Linked DNA regions of Homo sapiens: region 2 is linked to region 1. Evidence: promoter capture Hi-C in 16 types of primary human blood cells and fetal thymus (Javierre and others, 2016). All regions are on one chromosome and are shown on one strand. The core of a region is centred on a gene start or on the middle of the fragment in contact, and the rest is flanking DNA. Distances in the headings are between cores, read along the strand shown. Region 1 holds the start of OR10H2 (olfactory receptor family 10 subfamily H member 2). Region 2 overlaps NOTCH3 (notch receptor 3).

Region 1 (6,890 bases), core at 3,513-6,012:
AAGTGGCTCTAAGGAAAAGGCACAAAAAACACCCTTTTTAGGTGTTTTCACAGGACACCTGCAGGCAAGTGTAGGAGCCAGACCCAGGGCCTCCTTGAACTGGTGCTGTGAGCTTTATTCCTGCAGTGACCTTCCCAGCAGGTCATTCCCATGGGCCTCTACAGGAAACCACGCTGGAAAGGCTGTCCTCTGGGTCTGGAGAGGCCAGGAAGAGCCTCAGGGAGCATTCAGGAACCTGCAGCCTCCACCTCTTCCTCCAGCACACAGGGCTCACTGCTACCTCTCTGCCCAGGGAGATTTTAGCTCATGCAAAGGATGGGAAGATTCCAGTCTCAAAGGAGACAGGGATGGAGAATTCTGGTTAAAGATTGATAAGGAAGGGCCATACTGAGGGATAGCCAACCTCTCCTTCCATCACAGCTGGGAACACGGTTTTTAAGATTTCTCTGGGGTTCTTATGTTCAAGAGGGTGTCTGTTCAGTTGGTTGGGGGCCTTAGGATTTTATTTTTATTTCTCAAAATCCAACAGACCTAATGGTGCTCTGAGCAACTGGAAAATGAGGATGTTGTGTAAAACCTTGCAGAGCTCAATAGGAGATCCACAGTGGAAATGTTTAATATGTTAGAGCAAGAAATCACTATTCTTTCCTGGGACAATAAGGCTTCACTCACTTCTGAGCCCCATTAAGGACACAACCCAATATGCTTATCCTGGACTAGGCACGTTCTGTTCACAAAGCCATAAAATTAGATGCACAATCCAATTTGTCAGCAAGTACAAGTAGTATATAGCAAACTAGGCTCGAGGCAGTCTTTTTTTTTTTTTTTTTTTTCTGAGACAGGGTCTCATTCTGTCACCCAGGTTGGATTGCAGTAATGTGATCACAGCTCACTGCAGCCTCAATCTCCTGGGCTCAAGTGATCCTCCTGCCTCAGCCTCCTGAGTATCTGGGACTAGAGGCTAGTGCAAACATGCCCAGCTAATATTTTGTATTTTTTTTTTTGTAAAATTGGGGTTTCCCTGTGTTGCCAAGGCTGGTCTCAAACTCCTGGACTTAAGTTAACCTTCCACCTAAGCCTCCCAAGTAGCTAAGATTGCAGGCATGAGCCACCATGCCCACTTTCCACAGCTTGTATAGAGAAATCTCTTTCTAGAACTCAATCTCCCTCAAAACCTTTGAGAAATTAAAAATAATAAGCAATTTTTGCTGGCACACTTGTCTTTTTACCTGTTACACAGTTTTAGAAATGAAGAGATGATCTATGAAGGGTGCTGGACATAGTATACAGCTCAACATACAGTAGACACTCATACAGTGGCTACCATTATTATTTTACTATTGCTGTGCAACAGCATGGGAAGCAACCTAGTAGCTGGGAATGAAGTGTGTTTACTAATTCAGTATGAATGATGTGTCTGCCTAGGGCCATGTGTGTGTGTGATGATTATTTCCTCATCCTCACAAACTTATATAATCACAGACATAGGTCACTGATGGAAGTTCACAGACAGGATTCATTCAACCACACTGAACCCAGCCAAAACTAAGATTAGGCCCCTACCTCACACCATACACAAAGTTTGACACTCAAAATATATCAAAAACCCAAATGTAAGAGCTAAAACTACAAAACTCTTATGAGGCAACGTAGATGTTCATGACCTTAGATAAAGCAATACAATGTTTTTTTAGATGTGACACCAAAAGCACAAGCAACAACAAAAAAAAATAGGTACACTGATGTTATCAAAATGTAAATCTATTGTGCTACAGAAAGACACCAAAAAGACCATGAAAACACAACCCACAAACTATAAGGAAATAACTGAAAATCACAGATCAGATAAAAGAGTCTTAACTAAAAATATAAAGCATTCTTACAACTTAACAACAAAAATACAAACAACCCAATTGGAAAATGGGTGGAGTATCTCAATAGCTATTTCTCCAAGAACATATCTAAATAGCCAATAAGCACATGATGAGATGTTCAACATCCTTACTCACTAGGGAAATGCAGATCAAAACCACAATGAGATACCACTTCACACCCACGAAGATGGCTGTGATCAAAAAGACAGTAACAAGTATTGGTGAGGTTGCAGAGACCTAGACCCCTGCAGCATTGCTGGTGGGAATGTAAAATGGTGCATAGACTTTAGGAAACAGCTTGGAAGTTCCTAAAAAAATAAACATAGAAATACCACTTGACCCAGCAATTTCACTCCTAGGTATATATCCCAAGGAAATGAAAGCATATATTGCAACACTTGTACTGATCACTCATAGCAGTATTACTCAAAATAGCAAAAATTAGAAACACTGAAATGTCCATCAATGACAAATGGGTAAATAAAATGTAGTGTTTCCATACAATGGAATATTATTTGGCAATCAAAATGATATACTGGCTGGGCACGGTGGTTCATGCCTGAAATCCCAGCACTTTAGGAGGCCGAGGTGGGTGGAGTGTTTGAGGTCAGGTGTTCAAGACCAGCCTGGCCAACATGGTGAAACCCCGTCTCTACTGAAATACAAAAATTAGCCAGGCATGGTGGCAGGCATCTGTAATCCCAGCTATTTGGAAGGCTGAGGCAAGAGAATCACTTGAACCTGGGATGCGAAGGTTGCAGTGAGCCAAGATCATGCCACTGCACTCCAGCCTAGGTGACAGGGTGAGACTCTGTCTTGAAAAAAAAAAAAGATGATGTACTGATACAAGCTACAATGTAGGAGAACTTCAAAAACATTATGCTCAGTGAAACAATTCATCTGAAAATAAAAGAATTATATTTACAGTTGTCCATTGATGTGAAACGTCCAGAAAAAGCAACTCTAACCAGACAGAAAGATTAGTGGCTCCCTAGGGCTGGAGGGCATGGAGATTTGGAGGAAACAGAGAGTGACTGATAATGAGTATGGGTTGTTTGTTTGTTTGAGACAAGGTTTGGCTCTGTTGCCCAAGTCAGAGTTCAGTGGTGATCATGGCTCACTGCAGCCTCGAACTCCTGGATGCAAGCAATCCTCCCACATCAGCCTCTGGAGTAGCTGGGGCTACAGGAATGTGCCACCCCATTTAGCTAATTATCAGAATTTTTGTGTGTGTCAGGAAGGGGAACATCACAGACTGGGGCCTGTTGTGGGGTAGGGGGAGTGGGGAGGGATAGCATTAGGAGATATACCTAATGTTAAATGACAAGTTAATGGGTGCAGCACACCAACATGGCACATGTATATGTATGTAACTAACCTGTACGTAGTGCATATGTACCCTAAAACTTAAAGTGTAATAAATTAAAAAAAAAAGAACTTGTGTGTGTGTATGTGTTTGTGTGTGTGTGTAGATGGCATCTCACTATGTTGTCCAGACCGATCGTGAATTCCTGACATCAAACAATTCTCCCACTCAGCCTTCCAAAGCACTAGGATTTGGGTTTCTTTTTTGGATGACTAAAATACTCTAAGCCAGATTGTCATGATGGTTGCATAACTCTGAATACGCAAAAACCACAGAAATGTGCGCTCTAATGGGTACATTGTATGGTAGGTGAATTACATCTTAATAAAGCTACTATAACTCAAAAATTAAAACTCAGATAAAGACATACAGATCAAGAGTTGTGGAAGTAAACATGCTTTTAACATTTACTGAGCACCTACTATGTGATGAGTGTTGTCATATACAGAAATCTTTACACCTGCCTTACAAGGTAAGCATTACTAGCCACACTGTGCAGACAAGGTGATGGTCATCCTCCTATCATATTCTATCAGCACTTCCACACCAGCTACTCAGGTGCCTGAGGAATAGAGTGTGCTGAGGAAGGTCCTCTTCATGGCAACCTTCAGTTCTTTGTTCCTGAGGCTGAAGATGATGGGGCTGAGGAAGGGCGTGAGGACTGCGTAGGTGGTGGCCATCAGGGTGTCACCCTCCTGAGAGTGGGGACCTTTGGGCTTGAGGTAGATGACAGAGGCAAAGCCATAGTGCACAATGACCACAATAAGGTGAGAGGCACAGGTGGAGAAGGCCTTGTTCCGACCTTCAGCAGAAGGGATCTTCAAGATGTCGGCCACGATGAAGGCATAGGAGAGGAGGATGAGGAGAAAACAGCCCAGCAGTGCCATGATACATACCAAGCCCACGCCCAGGGCCACAGCTGGTACATTATTTCCACAGGCCAACTTCAACAGAGGTGGCACATGACATAAAAAATGCTGGATCTCATGGGATCCACAGAAAGTCAGTTGGAAAATGGCCGAGGTCACCACCATCCCCATGACCGAGCCACCAGCCCAGGAGCAGCCCACCAGGCAGGCGCAGCCCCGTGGGCTCATGAGCACGTTGTAGCGCAGGGGGTGGCAGATGGCCACGTAGCGGTCGTAGCCCATGACGGTGAGCAGGAAGGAGTGGGTGAAGCCGAAGCTGAAGGAGAAGAACATCTGACTGGCACAGGCCAGGAAGGCGATGGAGCGCTGGGTGGACAGCAGGTCGGCCAGCATGCGCGGGATGATGGCCACGGTGTAGAGGATCTCGGAGACTGAGAGGACGCACAGGAAGAGGTACATGGGCGTGTGGAGGCTGCGCTCGCTCCAGACGGTGGCCATGATGAGCAGGTTGCCCAGCAGCGTGAACAGGTACATCAGCAGGAACAGCAGGAAGAGCATCAGTTGGAGGTGGGGGAAGGCAGAGAAGCCGACGAGGATGAATTCAGACATGGAGGTGTGGTTTAGCCCCAGCATGACGGCCACCCCTAGTTGGGGAAGAGAGGAAAGAAGACCCAGTGGTTAGGAGCATGGGGGTGTCTAGTGATTCCTGCCTGGGAGGACATCTGAGAGCGCCTCCTTCATCTGTCCAAGCCATGGTTACTCCATCTGCAGAAAGGCATTAATAATAATGTATTGAGGTTTAAATAAGATCACTCACCTTAAGTGCTTTGTGCAGGTCCTGACACAAAGTAAGAATTTAATAAATTATAAATGTTGATAGTAATAATTATTCTGCTATTGTTATTGCCATCACGATTATTAGATCCATGCACCACCACCTACACCTTGCTTTTCTGCCTTTGTTCATGCTGGTCTTTTCATGCTTTTCCCTATCTTTATGGGTCCAAATCCTACCTGAATTTTATGAGCAAGCTGCTCCCTGATTGCCACCTTCAGCTGGAAGTCATCTCTTCCCTATGTCATGGAAACGTCCAGACTCTGTTTAATTCTCGGCACCACTGCTTTCTAGCTGTGAGATGCAGGGCAGGTTGCTTCCCCTCTCTGAGCCTCATTGCTCCCCTGGAAAATTGAAACCACCTTTGCAAAATTATGACTGAGACAGCGAAAGAGATCTAACTTAACCAACTCCATCTTGCTTCTAACCTCCAAGCTGTCCTTGTTCATTCCAGGACATAGGGTGAACTAACTTTGGGGGAAATTTAGTTTATAGTTTATAGTTTATAGTTTGGAACAAGGACGATAACAGCCCTTTCCCAAAGCAGACCTCCTTCTTGTCTGGGGATTAGATTGCCTTTGTAGAACTAACATTAGCCACAAGATTAGAAATTATGGTTTAGGAGTCATGCAGCTGGAGGCTACAAGATTCTGACCCTCCCTAAATTGCTCCCAAGATCAGTGCTTGAGATATTTTGCAGATCCTGCACTTGATGGATCAGCTGGCACCACCCAGGTCGATAAACTGGCTCAACTGATCTTGTGGCCCCCACCCAGGAACTGACTCTCCGCAAGAAGACAGCTTTGATTTCATCTCTGACCAATCAGCACTGCTGGCTCACTGGCTTCCCCTCCACCCACCAAGTTGTCCTTAAAAACTCTGCTCCCCAAGTGCTCAGGGAGACTGATTTGAGTAATAATAAAACTCCAGTCCCCTGCAGAGCCAGCTCTGTGTGAATTACTCTTTCTCTATCACAATTCCGCTTTTTTTTTTTTTTTTCTTTGAGACAGAGTCTCACTCTGTCCCTGCTGGAATGCAGTGGCATGATCTCGGCTCACTGCAACCTCCGCCTCCTGGGTTCAAGCAATTCTCCTGCCTCCGCCTCCTGAGTAGCTGGGATTACAGGCCCGCATCACCACACCTGGCTAATTTTTGTATTTTTAGTAGAGATGGGGTTTAACCATGTTGCTCGGGCTGGTCTTGAACTTCTGAGTTCAAGTGATCAGCCTGCCTCAGCTTCCCAAAGTGCTGGGATTTATAGGTGTGAGCCACCATGCCCAGTCAAAAACTTCTTAGCAGAAAATGGTTATGGTCCACTGACCTCTAGGCTATGGGCCCAGCATGCTTCCACTACGTGACTCTGCTGGTCTCCTCCTCTTTTTGACCCCAACCCCAATCCTCCAATCCCAAACCTAACAGCAAAAACCTAGGCTATCAGCCATGGCTTCTCTCATCACCTTCCCTGAGTGGCCACAGAGTCAGATCTGCCCAATTTCTCTGCCAGGGCAGCTCTCCTCCCTGCACCAATAGGAGCCCTTCTACTTTATTTAGTTTATGGAAGTTCCCCAACAAACTAAACTAGGAGGCTGTGACTCCTCTCCCACTCTCTTTCTTGCCAGTCTGCAAACAGGCTAGATGCAAAATACAAAAGTTTATGTTACAATGCAAACTGGATCAATGAATGAATGGATAAACAAAATGTGGTCCGACCACACAATGAAATATTATGCAACCACGCAAAGATTGAATCAGTGATACATGCAACAGCGTGGATGCACTTTGAGAACATGAGGCTGAGTGAAGGAAGCCAGACACAAAAGGCCACATAGTATATAATTCCATTTATAAGAAATGTCCAGAATAGTTAAATCCACTGAGAAAGAAAGCAGATGTGTGGTTGTCAGGGAATGGGGCTAGCGTGGGATGGGGAATGACTGATGAATGGA
Region 2 (6,314 bases), core at 3,771-6,270, 570 kb after region 1:
TGAACCCTGTGGCTGTGCCCCTCGATTGGGCCCGGCTGCCCCCACCTGCCCCTCCAGGCCCCTCGTTCCTGCTGCCACTGGCGCCGGGACCCCAGCTGCTCAACCCAGGGACCCCCGTCTCCCCGCAGGAGCGGCCCCCGCCTTACCTGGCAGTCCCAGGACATGGCGAGGAGTACCCGGCGGCTGGGGCACACAGCAGCCCCCCAAAGGCCCGCTTCCTGCGGGTTCCCAGTGAGCACCCTTACCTGACCCCATCCCCCGAATCCCCTGAGCACTGGGCCAGCCCCTCACCTCCCTCCCTCTCAGACTGGTCCGAATCCACGCCTAGCCCAGCCACTGCCACTGGGGCCATGGCCACCACCACTGGGGCACTGCCTGCCCAGCCACTTCCCTTGTCTGTTCCCAGCTCCCTTGCTCAGGCCCAGACCCAGCTGGGGCCCCAGCCGGAAGTTACCCCCAAGAGGCAAGTGTTGGCCTGAGACGCTCGTCAGTTCTTAGATCTTGGGGGCCTAAAGAGACCCCCGTCCTGCCTCCTTTCTTTCTCTGTCTCTTCCTTCCTTTTAGTCTTTTTCATCCTCTTCTCTTTCCACCAACCCTCCTGCATCCTTGCCTTGCAGCGTGACCGAGATAGGTCATCAGCCCAGGGCTTCAGTCTTCCTTTATTTATAATGGGTGGGGGCTACCACCCACCCTCTCAGTCTTGTGAAGAGTCTGGGACCTCCTTCTTCCCCACTTCTCTCTTCCCTCATTCCTTTCTCTCTCCTTCTGGCCTCTCATTTCCTTACACTCTGACATGAATGAATTATTATTATTTTTATTTTTCTTTTTTTTTTTACATTTTGTATAGAAACAAATTCATTTAAACAAACTTATTATTATTATTTTTTACAAAATATATATATGGAGATGCTCCCTCCCCCTGTGAACCCCCCAGTGCCCCCGTGGGGCTGAGTCTGTGGGCCCATTCGGCCAAGCTGGATTCTGTGTACCTAGTACACAGGCATGACTGGGATCCCGTGTACCGAGTACACGACCCAGGTATGTACCAAGTAGGCACCCTTGGGCGCACCCACTGGGGCCAGGGGTCGGGGGAGTGTTGGGAGCCTCCTCCCCACCCCACCTCCCTCACTTCACTGCATTCCAGATGGGACATGTTCCATAGCCTTGCTGGGGAAGGGCCCACTGCCAACTCCCTCTGCCCCAGCCCCACCCTTGGCCATCTCCCTTTGGGAACTAGGGGGCTGCTGGTGGGAAATGGGAGCCAGGGCAGATGTATGCATTCCTTTGTGTCCCTGTAAATGTGGGACTACAAGAAGAGGAGCTGCCTGAGTGGTACTTTCTCTTCCTGGTAATCCTCTGGCCCAGCCTCATGGCAGAATAGAGGTATTTTTAGGCTATTTTTGTAATATGGCTTCTGGTCAAAATCCCTGTGTAGCTGAATTCCCAAGCCCTGCATTGTACAGCCCCCCACTCCCCTCACCACCTAATAAAGGAATAGTTAACACTCAGTGTTGTTGGTCTGTGTCTAGGTAAGGTGGGGAGTGGTGGCAGTGGGACTTCTATCTCCCCCACCCAGGGCTAACTTGAGCTCCCATCTTGGGGTAAATACATTTGACTTGCCAGTCTACTTATGCTTCCTCTTTTGGCAGATGACTACCGATTGGATTAGTGGTTGTCACCTGACTTAAGCTGAGCCAATCAGATTCTTTTGCTCGAGAACTTTCTTTAATGGAGAGGCTAAGAAAGTTGTCAGTTGGTGGAGCTCTTAAGGTCACAATCAGATTTAGAAATATCAGTGGCCAATTCGAGGTGGTGGGCAAAGAGACAAGCAAACAGGGCAGAAGAATGAAGCTAATATTCAGGGAGAATCAGAAATGAGAGCTCAAATGGCTCCTTGAGGGCTGGGGGGGTTATCTCGGCTCCCAGTGCAGTTATCAATTCCAGTTAATTGAGTGTTCATTCCATTGAGATCAACAGGTATTTATTAATTGCTTTCTAAGTATCTGATCATGGTTCTGCATGAATTTCACTTTTACTTCATGCTCCTATGGGTTTTGGAGATAACCTTGGACCCATGTAATAAATACTTCTTTACTTGTGCCAGCTTCGGTGGGTTTCTGTTACTCGCAACCAGTCGTGCTCCAAGACAAGGTTCTGTTTACACTGGTGTCTTCAGGAAAGGAGGATAGGATTTAATGTTCGTTGATTCTGTCAGTTGGAGTGCTCCTGGTTGCAAATGACACAAAAGTCTACTGGCTTAAACAAGAAAGGGGTTTATTAGCTCATATAAATTAAAAGGACCTACTTCAGGGGAGAATTGATCTAGTGGCTCAAATGTGGTCAACAATGGCTCAGTTTCTCTTCATCTCTACAGCTTTCTCTGGGCATCAGTTTCATCTACATGCTCCACATGGCACCCAGTAGAACCTCTCTTCCCGACATCACACAGCTCCAGCCTTCTCTCTGTGTTATCAAAATAGGTGCCATATTGCTCCTTCCAGGGAAGAGAGAAACTCCTAGTATTGTGATTGATTTTTCTTTTACTTTCTTCCTTTTTTTTTTTTTTTTTTTAAGATAGAGTCTTGTTCTTGTCACCCAGGCTGGAGTGCAATGGCACAATCTCGGCTCACTGCATCCCCCGCCTCCGGGTTCAAGCAATTCTCCTGCCTCAGTCTCCCAAGTAGCTGGGATTACAGGTGTCCACCTCCATGCCTGGCTAATTTTTGTATTTTCAGTAGAGACAGGATTTCACCATGTTGGCCAGGCTGGTCTCGAACTCCGGACCTCAGGTGATCCATCCACCTTGGCCTCCCAAAGTGCTGGGATTACAGGCATGAGTCATCGCACTCGACCTTGTGGTTGATTTTTCTATTGACTCCAATTGGTTCACGTATCCACCCTCTAACCTAAGGTTTCTTAATTTCGGCATTATTGACATTTGGGGCCAAATCATTCTTTGCTGTGGGGAGCTGTCCTGTGCATTGTAGGATATTTAATAGCATCTCTGGTCCCTACCCATTAGCTACCAGCAGCACCCCTTTTCCAGTTGTGACAACCAATATAACATGTCTCCAGACATTGCCAATTGTCATCTGGGAGGCAGATTCACACCTGTTGTTGTCTTAAAGCATGTCTTAAAGTCTCTTCTTTGGAACTACTGATGTGCTAAATTTAGGGGCAATCAGGTTTGCAGAAGCATGAATTCTGTGGAAGCTTCTAATAAATGTTTACTCCTCTCCCACCCCCTTTAGGCTAAGTCTTTGAAGATGAAACAGTCTCTTTTAGGTTTGTCTCAACTTTATTTTATGTTTATTCCCTTACCCTCTAACCTGTATTGGGCACCTACCGTGTGCCAACTCCCGGACAAGTTGTTGAGAATAGAATGGTGAATTATATAGGCCCAGTCTCTGCTTTTATGGAATTTCAGGCTAGTTGAGGGATGTATGGGGGGTGCACCCCTGTATACCCTTGGAACTTACCATTCTAGTGCTTGCTGACAGCATCTGACTGAACACCTGAGACTCTCCACCTGGGAACTTTCTCTTGTGTGGGGCAGGAGCAACCCTCAACATATGAGGGATGAATGAGAGATGGTGGATAAATACCCCAGCTTCCTCGCCACTCTCTGTGGGAATTCATGGATATGATCCACAGAGTCTCCCAAAGGATGCTCTTTGGGATTAAGCCCCAGTTGCCCACAGCAGCAACCTACTCTTCCTCACTCCTACTAGAGCTTTCTGGAATGATCTTGCGAATAAATTCCTTGCACTTGAATCATTGGCCCAAGAGAAGTCCATCTTAGCTTTATGCATGAGTAGATTCTTGGGAATAAAAAATAAAATATCTACTGGGGCTTAAGCAAGTTTGGGTATTCTTCTTCCCAAGTGCTGTACAAATGAGGAGAAAGTCCTTCTCCCTACCCATTTTGTCCACTCTATCATGCAACCTTGGCTTCATGTCAACAGAATATTGAAGAAGAGTGTCCCACAGCGGGAACCCACTTTCGTACCTGGTGGAGCTGACTTATTTGTAAGCACATGTGAGACTCACCCACACTGGGAGCTCCCTGGAATGATTGCAGAAAGGATGTTAGGTTGAGGACTAGGAAGCCTGCACTGGTGATGGAGGAAAATTAACTAATGAGATTCAAGGATTCATATGTATGTGATTTCATTGGCATGCTGAAGTTGGGAAGGGTTGGGGACTTTGGAATTGACATCCTAGTTGGTTTTTTGACTGAAAGGACAATGATAAAACAGCTGAGTGTCTGCTTTTTGCCTCCAGATCTGCACTGATCTTCCTCAACTCTTCTCTGTGCTCTGGGAGAATGACCCAGGTAGATGGCATCAATGGGTTTCCTTACTCTCTGGCTTCCACTTGGGTTTGGCCAATGAGAGACACAGGTGAGGGATTAGAGGGTGGAATGTATTTGTCTCCCTGGCTCCCTGCCTGCAGGGTACCTGCAGTGCTCTCCCTCCAGCTACCTACCCTCTGTGGGTCTGGGTTATTGTTTCCTCTGCTTGGCCCTTTTGGCATAGAAGCGATAAAGGCTCTCCACCATTGTGAGCCCCAAGGTATAGTAACATTCCTTGCCTACATTCTGCGCATGCCTCATCTGTCTAGAATGTCAATCATTTATTTATTATCTATCTATGTCTATCATCTATCGTTTATCTTTCATCCGTCTATATCTATCTTATGCTTCTCTGTCCTCTGTTGTCTATTTATATCTATGAATCTTTCTATTTTTCTATCATCTATCATTTATATATCTTTCTCTCCATCCATCTACCAATCTTTCTTCTTCTTTTTTTTTTGAGACGGAGTTTTGCTCTATTTCCCAGGCTGGAGTGGAGTGGCGAGATCTCGGCTCACTGCAAACTCTGCCTCCCGGGTTCATGCCATTCTCCTGCCTCAGCCTCCCAAGTGGCTGGGACTACAGGCGTCCACCACCGCGCCTGGCTAATTTTTTGTATTTTTAGTAGAGATGGGGTTTCACCATGTTAGCCAGGATGGTCTCGATCTCCTGACCTCGTGATCCGCCCGCCTTGGCCTCCCAAAGTGCTGGGATTACAGGCGTGAGCCACTGTGCCCGGCCTCTTCTCTTTTTTTTTTTTTTTTTTTTTGAGATGGAGTTTCACTCTTGTTGCCCAGGCTGGAATGCAATGGCGTGATCTTGGCTCACTGCAACCTCCGCTTCCTGGGTTCAAGCAATTCTCCTGCCTTAACCTCCTGAGTAGCTGGGATTACAGGCATGCACCACTACGCCTGGCTAATTTTTGTATTTTTAGTAGAGATGGGGTTTCTTCATGTTGGTCAGCCTGGTCTCGAACTCCCGACCTCAGGTGATCTGCCTGCCTTAGCCTCCCAAAGTGCTGGGATTACAGGCATGAGCCACTGAGCCTGGCCTAATTTTTGTATTTTTAAGTAGAGACAGGGTCACCATGTTGGCAGGCTGGTCTTGAACTACTGACCTCGTGATCCACCCTCCTTGGCCTGCCAATGTGCCGGGATTACAGGCATAAGCCACTGCACCCAGCCTTATCTGAGCCTTTCAAAGCCTCTATAGACAGCTCCTTCCCTAGCTTTTGGTTTAGTCTATTTGTCTCAACTGTCACTCACTGCCTCAGGCATCCATGAAGCTAAAATACCTTCCTGTAGCTGTTGTCAACAAAGGACCCCCAGAGTGAAGGCTTTTTGCATGGTTTATCTCAGAGCCAGGTCAAATACAGAGAGCTTTGCCAGTGGGATCTTGCAGGGAACCATTAGCTTGGTAAATAATGACAATTCTTGGCCGGGTGTGGTGGCTCACACCTGTAATCCCAGCACTTCGGGAGGCCGAGGTGGGCAGATCATTTGAGGTCGGGAGTTTGAGACCAGCTTGGCCAACATGGTAAAACGCTGTCTCTACTAAAAATACAAAAATTAGCCAGGCGTGGTGGTGCATGCCTGTAATTCCAGCTACTTGGGAGGCTGAGGCAGGAGAATTGCTTGAACCTGGGAGGCGGAGGTTGCAGTGAGCTGAGATTGCACCACCGCACTCCAGCCTGGGCGACAGAGAGAGAGAGACTCCATCTCAATAAATAAATAAATAAATAAATAAAATTTAAAAAATAATGACAATTCTTTGGGAATGAGGCTTGAAAGTGCTCTAGTTCTGTTTTGCTCTCTCTGGTGGATGCCAGGCTGCACCAGAGTTTGGGCTGGTATTTTTCAAGACGACCACGGAGCTGGAGAGTGGGGGAGAAGACCAGAGATGTTAAAATGCCGAGTATGCTGTTCTCACTGATATTCAGTAATTTTCTGAATACATT

What was found. The method cuts DNA at HindIII sites, captures the fragments that hold promoters and counts their contacts. A CHiCAGO score of 5 or more calls a contact.
Region 2: a contact is called between a fragment that was not itself captured here and the fragment with the promoter of OR10H2 in region 1, in 1 of 17 cell types (neutrophils). The highest score is 6.5, in neutrophils.

The regions. Positions count from the first base shown.
Region 1 is chr19:15,725,896-15,732,785 of GRCh38, reverse strand. It overlaps OR10H2 (olfactory receptor family 10 subfamily H member 2), which reads right to left and starts at 4,762. Exons shown (of 1, transcript NM_013939.2): 1 at 3,734-4,762. The coding sequence starts at 4,742. The coding sequence ends at 3,795. The HindIII fragment of the contact is 20,205 bases long and covers 1-6,890 here.
Region 2 is chr19:15,154,827-15,161,140 of GRCh38, reverse strand. It overlaps NOTCH3 (notch receptor 3), which reads left to right. Exons shown (of 33, transcript NM_000435.3): 33 at 1-2,103. The coding sequence ends at 479. Among named protein-coding and RNA genes, the nearest start is that of MIR6795, 21 kb to the left of the region's middle. The HindIII fragment of the contact is 3,609 bases long and covers 3,216-6,314 here.